Linked DNA regions of Homo sapiens: region 2 is linked to region 1. The links are contacts of gene promoters, found by promoter capture Hi-C in blood cells and fetal thymus (Javierre and others, 2016). All regions are on one chromosome and are shown on one strand. The core of a region is centred on a gene start or on the middle of the fragment in contact, and the rest is flanking DNA. Distances in the headings are between cores, read along the strand shown. Region 1 holds the start of BMERB1 (bMERB domain containing 1). Region 2 overlaps NDE1 (nudE neurodevelopment protein 1).

Region 1 (5,561 bases), core at 1,625-4,124:
GTCTTGCCTCACTGTAGCCTCGACCTCCCAGGCCCAAGCAGTCCTCCTACCTCAGCCTCCTGAGTATCTGGAATTATAGGTGTGTGCCACCACACCTGGTTAATGTTTTAATTTTTGTAGAGATGGAAAACTGCTTTGCTGCCCAGGCTGGTCTCGAACTCCTGAGCTCAAGGATTCCTCCCACCTTAGCCTCCCAAAGTGCTGGGATTATAGGCATGAGCCACCGCACCTGGCCAAGGTCTGTATTTTTCTTATTGTACTAAACTTGCAACTTTTCTGTAGATTTAAAAATTTTCAAAATACTGTAAATAGTTTAAAAATATATAAATTTTAGATATAGCTGAAACTAACTACTTACCCTTTCCCAGCCTCCTAAAGTAATTACTATCCTGAATGTAATGTTTATTGTTTTTTTTTTTTTTTTTTGAGACAGCGTCTCACTGTCACTGAGGCTGGAGTGCAGTGTCATGATCTCAGTTCACTGCAACCTCCGTCCCACGGGTTCAAGTGATTCTCCTGCCTCAACCTCCTGAGTAGCTGGAATTACAGGTGTGCGCCACCAGGCCCGGCTAATTTTTTTTTTTTTTTTTTTTTTTGTATTTTTAGTAGAGACGGGGTTTCAGCATGTTGGCCAGGCTGGTCTCGAACTCCTGACCTCAGACTAACCGCCCGCCTCAGCCTCCCAAAGTGCTGGGATTACAGGCGTGAGCCACTGTGCCTGGCCTGGTACAACTAATTTTAAAAGCAGGTTGACACTCTAGTCCAACTGGCAGATGTGCATACCCCATGCCATTGTAATTTTTCCCCCTAGAAAAACTCCTATTCAGTCGTACAGGGAAATGAGTATAAAAACATTTGCTGCTGCCATGTTTGTAATTGTGGACAATTGGGAATAATCTTTATACCTCATCAATGAAAAAATAGACCAATTATGGTTCATTCATGTAGAATACTATACAGTAGACTATGAACCAGAGTTACATGAATCAGAATTCGTATTTCTCAAAAGCATAATGTGGGCCGGGCACGGTGGCTCACGCCTGTAATCCTAGCACTTTGGCAGGCTGAGGCAGGTGGATCACTTGAGCCCAGGAATTCAAGACCAGCCTGAGCAACACAGTGAAAACCTGTCTCTATCTTTTTAAAAGGAAGAAAAGCATATTGTGGAACAACAACAGAAAAAAGCAACTTGCAGAATTATAAAGTATGATATCATTTGTATAAATTATAAGAAAATGTTAAATAGCGCTATTATATATAATTTGTAGAGTTATACATATATACCTGAGAACAATAAACATTACATTCATGCAGCCAGGCACAGTGGCTCATTCCTGTAGTCTCAGCACTTTGGGAGACCAAGGCGGGCAGATCACTTGAGCTCAGGAGTTCGAGACCAGCCTGGCCAACATGGTGAAACCACATCTCCATTAAAAATACAAAAAATTAGCTGGGCATGGTGGCACGCCTGTAGTCGCAGCTACTCAGGAGCTTGAACCCAGGAGGTGGAGGTTTCAGTGAGCCGAGACTATGCCACTGCACTCCAGCCTGGGTGACAGAGAGAAAAAAACAGTTGTACCAATTTATACTCCCACTAGCATTAGATAAAAGTTCAAATTATGCCAGGCATGGTGTCTCACATCTGTAACCCCAGCATTTTTGGACTCTGTCTCAAAAAAAAAATCCACATCTTTTACAACACATGATTGTTAGATTTTTTAGTTTTTGCCTATCGGATGATATATTCTTATTTACATTTTCATTTTCCTTATTACTAAGGGGGTTGAGCAGCTTCTCACATTAGGCCTTCCTCCTCTGCCCACATGACATGACTATTCATATTCTTTCCCTGTTTCCTACTGGGATATCATTTTCTTTTTTTCGTTTCTTTTCTTTTTTTGAGACGGAGTTTTCCTCTTGTTGCCCAGGCTGGAGTGCAATGGCATGATCTCGGATGACTGAAACCTCTGCCTCCCAGGTTCAAGCGATTCTCCTGCCTCAGCCTCCCGAGTAGCTGGAATTACAGGCCTGCGCCATCACAGCTGGCTAATTTTTGTATTTTCAGTAAAGATGGGGTTTCACCATGTTGGCCAGGCTAGTCTCAAACTCCTGGCCTCAAGTGATCCACCCACCTCGGCCTCCCAAAGTGCTGGGATTACAGGCATGAGCCATCGTGCCCAGGCACTGCCATGGTGTTTTTTGTTTGTTTGTTTGTTTGTTTTTAAAGATAAACCTCTGGGGTTTCTGGAAAGTAAAGCCCCATGCTCCAAACAGCTCTGCTATACCTGTGTGCAAAATATTTTCATCTCTCTCTCTCTCTCCCCAAAGTGCATGCAAACACATATGGAACTGACATAGGCATCCACTGTCGCACTTCAAATTAAACAGACGCACACGACAGATATTCTCACAGAAAAGCAGTCAGCCAAGCCCAGAACCCATAGATCTAGGTCCACACTCACGCCTCTGCATGCTCCCCAGAAAGACGGATGCATCGCCCGCAGGTAGAGACGGGCTCACCAATCCCACTCAAAACCCGCTGCCGGCTTACAGCTCGCAAGCCGCCCACAGTGCCAGCCCCATGCCAAGCATCACTAGGGGCTCTAGAATAGGCAGGGGCCTTGTTCTCACTTCCTTTGTGTTGCTTTTATTTTAGTTGTTTTGTTTGTTGTTTTTCTTAGAGTTATCACCTGCCCCTCTGTCTCCCTACCCAGCCCCCAAGCCTCCCCTCCAAGCCTCCACTGCGCATGTGCCGTGCATCCCTGCCCCTTCTGGGTACCCGTAGGCGCTCCCGGGCGCTGGCGGCGGCGGAGGAGAGGGAGCAGCGTCACGGGCGCCCGGCCCGTTAAAACGCTGCTGGCTGGAGCCACCTCCCTCCCTGCAGCCCGCAACGGGAATGGAGTAAAGGGAGACCCGTCGACCTGGCCACGGGGATCAGCGATGGAATTAAAGCAATCTTTGTCCACCCATCTGGAAGCCGAGAAGCCTCTGAGGCGCTATGGGGCGGTGGAGGAGACGGCTTGGAAAACGGAGAGACTGGGGAGAAGTGAGTACTGGGGCGGGGGGCGGGGGGCCGGGGACAGCTGGGGATCCATGCGCCTGCGCGGGTGGTCGCGGGAGCGCGAGGAACGCCAGCAGTGGACCCAGGGAAGCGCCCCCGCAGCGGGGCTGGCAGCTCAGGGGGATACGCAGCTCTGCGCAGCGACGCGCTCTCCCCGCGAACAAAAGGGGGGGACCCTCCGGGCTGAGCCTCACTGGGAGGGTTGGGAGATGGCCAGGCAGCTAAGGCAGGAGCCTGGGCTCGACTTAGGAGTCCCGGATCCGTCAGCTCGCAGCTGGTCCTGTGAAGTCGGGTCTCTCCCACAGCCCAGGGAGGAGGATCCTCTCTCCGCCTGGGATGCGCCAGGGCGCTGGAGACGCGGGACCGTCCTGGAAAGCGCCCACGTCCCTGGAGAGGGGGGAGTGTCTGCTGGTTTTCCGCTTGCTTTCCTACCCCCTGCGTGAGGTTTCGGAGCGCACCTGAAATTCCCAGCTTTTCCTCCCTCGCCTTCCTTGGGTCGGGGTGGGAGGCTTGGGGCGGCAAAAGGGTCAAAAGGCACACACCGTTCTCTTTTCTCTCTTGACTCAGTTAAAGTCTGCTTGGGCACAACTCTAGAAGGCAGTTTCGAAATAGACCGGCTGTATTTATTTACTGGTTCTCTCTGCGGTGTTTGGATGTCAACATTTCTAAGTAAACGAAGGATTTTGTTTTTCATTAATAGGATACAATAGTTGAAACTCCTGCCCTCAAAGTGTAGAGGCAGCGTCAGGGGCTCCAGGGTCACTGGAGGTCCCTGCAAACCCGGGGGCTCCCCAAAGCCGCTGCTCTCACATGGCTTGCCCACCAGGCTGGGAAGGAGAGGTCCTTCTCAGGGACCCGGCAGCTTCCTGCCTCGGCTCTGGGTCACTGCTCCGCGCTCTGCCCCAGCACGGATCTCTGAGCGATGTAGGGCTAAAGTATTGTGAATGTGATCTTATTCTGTCCTCACCTGGTGGAAAATTGTGTGTGCGCGCTTTCTTTCTCTATACCTGTAATTATGGATTTAGAAAATCTTCCTAGAAGGGCTCAACTGTGTTCTGATTCTGACGGGTTGAAGTTGAAATCACAATCCAATGTCTTAGTGGTTCATGGGCTAGGATGGATGTCATAGCACTGCCAACCTCTTTCCTTTTCTTTTTTTTTCTCCCTTTTTAACCTTGGTCTTTCTTTCTAGTTCATCCTTTCAAGACCCAATGACTTGGTGCTTTGGCATAATATCAGGGCGTCAGGGCTGAGGGTCTCTGTTTCTTTCTTTAATTTTTAAGTGCACATAGTGGGTGTCCATATTTATGGAATACATGAGATATTTTGATACAGGCATACAATGTGTAATAATCACATCAGGGTAAACGGGGTATCCAAAACCTCAAGCATTTATCCTTTTTTTTGTGTTACAAACAATCCAATTACACTCCTTTTTTAAAAAAGCCCAGCTGTGTGACTAATTATACTCTTTTAGTTTAGCTTTTTTTTTTTTTTTTTTGAGACGGAGTTTCGCTCTTGTTGCCCAGACTGGAGTGCAATGACACAATCTCGGCTCACTGCGACCTCCACTTCCTGGGTTCAAGCGATTCTCCTGCCTCAGCCTCCAGAGTAGCTGAGATTACAGGTGCTCGCCACCATGCCTGGCTAACTTTTGTATTTTTAGTAGAGATGGGGTTTCACCATGTTGGGCAGGCTGGTCCCGAACTCCTGACCTCAGGTGATCGGCCTGCCCTGGCCTCCCAAAGTGCCGGGATTACAGGTGTGAGGCACCCCACCTGCCCTCTTTTAGTTATTTTTAAATGTACAATAAATTGTTGACTGTAGTCATCGTGTTGTGCTATCAGATACTAGATCTTATTCATTCTATCTACCTATATTTTTGTACCCATTAACCATCTCTGTGTCCCCCCATCCCAATACCCTCCCCAGCCTCTGGTAACCATCATTCTACTCTGTATCTCCATGAGGGTCTCTTGTTTCTTACAAGCTCAAAATAATCTCAACAATGGCTGCCTTTTATTGCTAGATGACCATGTGCTGAGAACTCTAAATGCATCATTTCATTTAGTCCCCTCAACAACCTCCTGCAGTACTAAGATTTATAAATTTAAATCTTGCCTAGATTTAAAAAAACATTTTAAAATAAAAATTTTAAAACAAAACATTTTAAAATAAAAAATTTAAATATAAATTTAAAATCTTGCATAGATTTAAAAAAACAAAACAAAACTGGGACTTGTTAGGTGATCTGACAGTTAAGTGGCAGAACCAGGATTTGAACCCCGGTCTGTTGGACCCCAGAGCCTGCTTTTAACATGAAGGTTTATTGCTTTCATGGTTTCAGAAAACTTCCTAAGTCTATTGAGATAGTCACAGAACATGCTCAGTGATTTTATAATTATGTGGCAGCCCTGTTGCTCTCTGAAGCTCACAGAGGCCTTAAAAAAATGCTGGGTCCACGCAGAATGGAAGCTGTTCACAAGAGTGCTGCTTTGAA
Region 2 (5,312 bases), core at 1,460-3,959, 220 kb after region 1:
TTTCCATTCAGTCCTCTGTTGACATTGAGGTTTCCAGTTTTCCACATTCGTGAATGATGGTGTGCATCTTTGAACATGGGTCCTTGCCTGCCTAAGTATTTTTGTAGGTTGATCATTGTAAACTTGGAAAGCACAAAGACAGAAGCCAGGCTTGCTGACTCTTGACTGATGTTGCCCCAGTGATGTCACTCCTGCAAAATGCAAAGCCTGCGTCCTGGCTGTCGGAGCATGTGTGGACATTTGGCAGCTTCTTTCTCTTCCCTCCTGCTCTTCTGTTTGTTTTGATTGGGAAGGATATGGAGTGGGGATGGAGAAGGGTGTTGAGTAATTATCGATGGTTTCTGTATGTTTATTGCTCCTGACTAGCAGTGCTGGGTTTCTTCTCTCAGAGGAAAGCTGAAAGAGATTGCTTTGCTTTTTTCCAGAGTTTTAAAATCAGAGGTGTGTGTCTCGAGTGTATTTTCAGACTTTTTTGTTAGCTTTAATCATGTAAAACATGCAAAAAAAAAAAAAGCATGTGGAAACAATTTTTTTTTTTTGAGACGGGTTCTCGCTCTGTCACACAGGCTGGAGTGCTGTGGGGCGATCTCGGCTCACTGCAACCACCGCCTCCCATGCTCAAGTGATCCTCCCACCTCAGCCTCCTGAGTAGCTGGGACCACAGGTGTGCATCACCACACCTGGCTAATTTTTTTGTGTTTTTGGTAGAGATGGGGTTTCACCATGTTGCCCAGGCTGGTCTCTTATCTGCTGACCTCAGGTGATCTGCCTGCCTCACCCTCCCAAAGTGCTGGGATTACAGGCATGAGCCACCACACCCGGCCGGAAACAAATTTTTGAAGGAGGCATAGATCTCTGTTGTGCAAAATAGATACTTTTTGTACCACTGGGTCCTAGTTTGTCATTGTTCCTTGCATGATCCCATCAGATTTGTCTACAGAGCTGCTGGGGCATGATGGTGTGGTGGCGTATTAAGAACGCAGGTTAGTGGCACACAGATGAAATAAATGCATGTGGGGTGCATTTTTAAGATAGCAGGTGCAAAGTTGTATATACTGAGACCAGGCATTAACACTTGCCTATTACAGTGCCTTTTAAAACACTATGTGAGGGCCGGGTGCAATGGCTCACACCTGTAATCCCAGCACTTTGGGAGGCCTAGGTGGGCAGATCACCTGAGGTCAGGAGATCGAGACCAGCCTGGCCAACGTGGCGAAACCCCGTCTCTCCTAAAAATACAAAAAATTAGCCAGTCGTGGTGGCATGCACCTGTAATCCGAGGTACTAGGGACGCTGAGGTAGGAGAATCGCTTGAAGCTGCGAGGCAGAGGTTGCAGTGAGCTGAGATCACACCACTGCACTCCAGCCTGGGCAACAGAGAAAGAGATTCCGACTCAAAAAAAAAAAAAACAAAAAAAAAAAAAACAAAACTGGACCAAATGAAACAAGTGAATCTGATCTGCAGTCAGTCAGTTTGCAACCCCTGGGAAGCCTTGGACTTGAATGCAAAGATCCCTTGAACTTGGATCTAGTTTGCCTCTGCTGCTCACATGCACATTTAGAGATGGCCAAGGCATACGGTGTTTCTGCTTCCAAGAAACAGAGTGGTTGTCCTGTTTAGCCATCTCTTACAGTCACACAGCTTAAAGAAGATAATGTTTGCAAACAATTTTTGAAATGTCTAGCACACAGCAAACAGAAGGTCAAATTCAGTACTTAATGCTGATAAAATAAGAGAACCCTTGCAAGTCATGTTGCCTGCTTTCTGCCACAGAGAGTACTGCAATAGAACTTTCTGACGTTTTCATGTTGTTTATTTATTTATTTTTTGAGACAGAGTCTTGCTCTTGTGCCCAGGCTGGAGTGCAGTGGTACAATTTCTGCTCACTGCAACCTCTGCCTCTGGGTTCAAGCAATTCTTGGGCCTCAGCCACCCAAGTAGCTGGAATTATAGGTGCGCTCTACCACACCTGGCTAATTTTTGTGTTTCTAGTAGAGACAGGGTTTCACCATGTTGCCCAGGCTGGTCTTGAACCCCTGGGCTCAAGCAATCCACCCACCTCAGCCTCCCAAAGTGCTGGGACTACAGGCGTGCATCGTGACGCCCTGCTGATTTGTGTATTTTTAGTAGAGACGGGGTTCACCTTGTGCTGGTCTCAAACTCCTGGGCTCAAGCAATCTGCCCACCTCAGTCTGCCAAAGTGCTGGGATTACAGGCGTGAGCCATCGTGCCCGGCCTCTCTCTGACATTTTTGAATGGCAAAGGCAAAAATCTTATACTTTTAAGGATGTGGAGAAATAGGAACACTTTTACACTGTTGGTGGGACTGTAAACTAGTTCAACCATTGTAGAAGTCAGTGTGGTGATTCCTCAGGGATCTAGAACTGGAAATACCATTTGACCCAGCCATCGCATTACTGGGTATATACCCAAAGGACTATAAATCATGCTTCTATAAAGACACATGCACACGTATGTTTATTGCGGCATTATTCACAATAGCAAAGACTTGGAACCAACCCAAATGTCCAGCAATGATAGACTGGATTAAGAAAACGTGGCACATATACACCATGGAATACTATGCAGCCATAAAAAATGATGAGTTCATGTCCTTTGTAGGGACATGGATGAAATTGGAAATCATCATTCTCAGTAAACTATTGCAAGAACAAAAAACCAAACACCGCATATTCTCACTCATAGGTGGGAATTGAACAACGAGAACACATGGACACAGGAAGGGGAACATCACACTCTGGGGACTGTTGTGGGGTGGGGGGAGGGGGGAGGGATAGCATTGGGAGATATACCTAATGCTAGATGACGAGTTAGTGGGTGCAGCACACCAGCATGGCACATGTATACATATGTAACTAACCTGCACATTGTGCACATGTACCCTAAAACTTAAAGTATAATAATAATAAAGAAAAAGAAAAAAAAAGATTGCTGTTTTATGATAAAGTGAAGTGCAGCTGTTACTTCTTCCTTCTTTGCTTCCAGCATCTCTCTTCCCTAAGGATTGCTTTTAAAATGTAAGAGTTTTTGGTTGAAATGCTGTTCCTGTGGTTTTTGTCTCTTGGTTGGAGTGAAAGATTTTGCAGGCTGTGATACAAATCCAGTTCTCTGCTTATTTTCTCCTCAGTCCTTGAAATCCAAAACCAGATCCCTCCCATTGGCCCGTTGTAATTAGAACCTGCCCCACAATAGACGCACCTCCTAAAGCATCTCAGATTCATTTCTTTCCTGAGGATTAAGTTTTTAAACCTTCCTGGCCAAGATAACAGTGTTTTAAGAGGCTCTTTTCTTTTATTATTATTATTATTATTATTACTCTTTTCTTTTTTTGAGATGGAGTCTTGCTCTGTCACCCAGGCTGGAGTGCAGTGGCAGGATCTCTGCTCACTGGAACCTCCACCTCCCGGGTTCAAGAGTTTCTTCTGTTTCAGCCTCCTGAGTAGATGGGATTACAGGCATGTGCCACCATGCCCAGCTAATTTTTGTATTTTTAGCAGAGATGGGGTTTTACCATGTTGGCCAGGCTGGTCTCGAACTCCTGGCTTCAAGTGATCTACCCGCTGTGGCCTCCCAAAGTATCAGGATTACAGGCATGAGCCACAGCACCCTGCCAGGCTTGGGTGTTCAAGGAAGAGAAAGAAGGCAGTGTGGCTGGGACATAAGTGAATGAGAGGTGGTAGGGTAAGAAATGTGTAGAAAACTATGCAGGGGCCTGATCACATTGGATCTTGCACATCTTTTTCCAAACCTCAGGAGGAGTCATTCTGCTTTTGTTGTTACTGGTTCCTCACTTCCGCACTTTATTGTATGCTGACAACCTTCCATACCATGGGACTGAGACTGCCCTCAATAGTATCACCAATGTCTTTTTTTGTTTTTTTTTTTTGAGGCAGAGTTTCACTCTTGTCGTCCAGGTTGGAGTGCAATGGCGTGATCTTGGCTCACTGCAACCTCCGCCTCCTGGGTTCAAGCGATTTTCCTGCCTCAGTCTTCCGAGTAGCTGGGGTTACAGGAGCCTGCCACCACACCTGGCTAATTTCTTGTATTTTTAGTGGAAATGGAGTTTCACCATGTTGGCCAGGCTGGTCTTGAACTCCTGACCTCAGGTGAACCACCCGCCTTGGCTTCCCAAAGTGTTGGGATTACAGGCATGAGCCAACGCACCCAGCCACCAATATCTTAATGGCCACACAGTGCTCATTGATAGATGCCTTGGCCCTGGGCTATTGTTGCTATAGAATTGGTTTGATGAGTACATATTACATGAGATCTGGGCTCATTAGAGCTTATGGCTTGAGCAGGGACTCCTTGGCCTAGGTTTATGCTGCTCCTGGCCTTGTTAATGACTGCTATTAACACTCTACCCCCTTTTTATTTTTTTGAGATGGGGTCTTGTTCTGTCGCCCAGGCTGGGAGGCTGGAATGCAGTGATCTTGGCTCACTGCAGCCTCCGCTTCTCAGGCTTAAGTGATTTTTCCTGCTTCATCCTTCTGAGTAGCTGGGACTACAGGCACGCACCGCCGTGCCCGTTTGATTTTTGTTTTTGTTTTTTTAGTAGACACGGGGTTTCACCATGTTGCCCAGGCTGGTCTCAAACTCCTGACCTCAAGTGATCTGTCTGCCTCGGCCTCACAAAGGGCTGGGATTACAGGCATGAGCCATTGCGCCAGGCACCACTCTACCCTTTTGACTTTGAGCAAGTAAGGTCGTTGATTCCATACATTCATTAAGATTCCTGCGTGGCAGAAATCTAACCCCAACTGGTATAACCAAGACAAGGAATTGATTATCTCATAACCTTAAATCAGGTGTGGCTGCATCTAGGTGTTCAAATGATATTGTCAGGACCCAGGCTCTCCATCCCTTGGCCCAGCTTTCCTCTGTTTTGGCTTCACTCTGAGGCAGGCTCTCCCTTGTGATAGCAAGATGACCACCGGCAGTTTCAGGCTTACCTCCGGCTTCAGGCTTACCTCCAGCTTCAGGCTTACCTTACCAACCCTAGTGGAAAGAGAGTTTCATTTTTGACAGCTATGCAAAAGGTCTGGACCTGGGCCCTCACTGGCTTAGTATGGGTTAGGCCCATCCTTAAGCCAATCATTGGCTCAGCATGGGTTAGATCCGTGACTGTCACTGGCTGAGCATGGGGGTTAGGCTCACCCTATCATTGGCTCTGCGTGAATTAGGCCCACCTCTGTCACTGGCTCATCGTGGGTTAGGCCCACCCATGAGCTGATCACTAAGGTCGTGAATAGGCATATGCCTCTTCCCAGGTGTGGAGGATGATGTCAGA

The links. The method cuts DNA at HindIII sites, captures the fragments that hold promoters and counts their contacts. A CHiCAGO score of 5 or more calls a contact.
Region 2: a fragment that was not itself captured here is called in contact with the fragment with the promoter of BMERB1 in region 1 in 1 of 17 cell types (neutrophils); the score reaches 6.0 in neutrophils.

What each region holds. Positions count from the first base shown.
Region 1 is chr16:15,431,714-15,437,274 of GRCh38, forward strand. BMERB1 (bMERB domain containing 1) reads left to right here and starts at 2,875. Exons shown (of 6, transcript NM_033201.3): 1 at 2,875-3,046. The coding sequence starts at 2,941. The region is part of intron 1 of MPV17L-BMERB1 (MPV17L-BMERB1 readthrough); the gene reads left to right. RefSeq lists an enhancer at 3,179-3,801. The HindIII fragment of the contact is 15,111 bases long and covers 1-5,561 here.
Region 2 is chr16:15,653,207-15,658,518 of GRCh38, forward strand. All of the region lies in intron 1 of NDE1 (nudE neurodevelopment protein 1), which reads left to right. Among named protein-coding and RNA genes, the nearest start is that of NDE1, 5.6 kb to the left of the region's middle. RefSeq lists a silencer at 106-400. The HindIII fragment of the contact is 5,902 bases long and covers 1-5,312 here.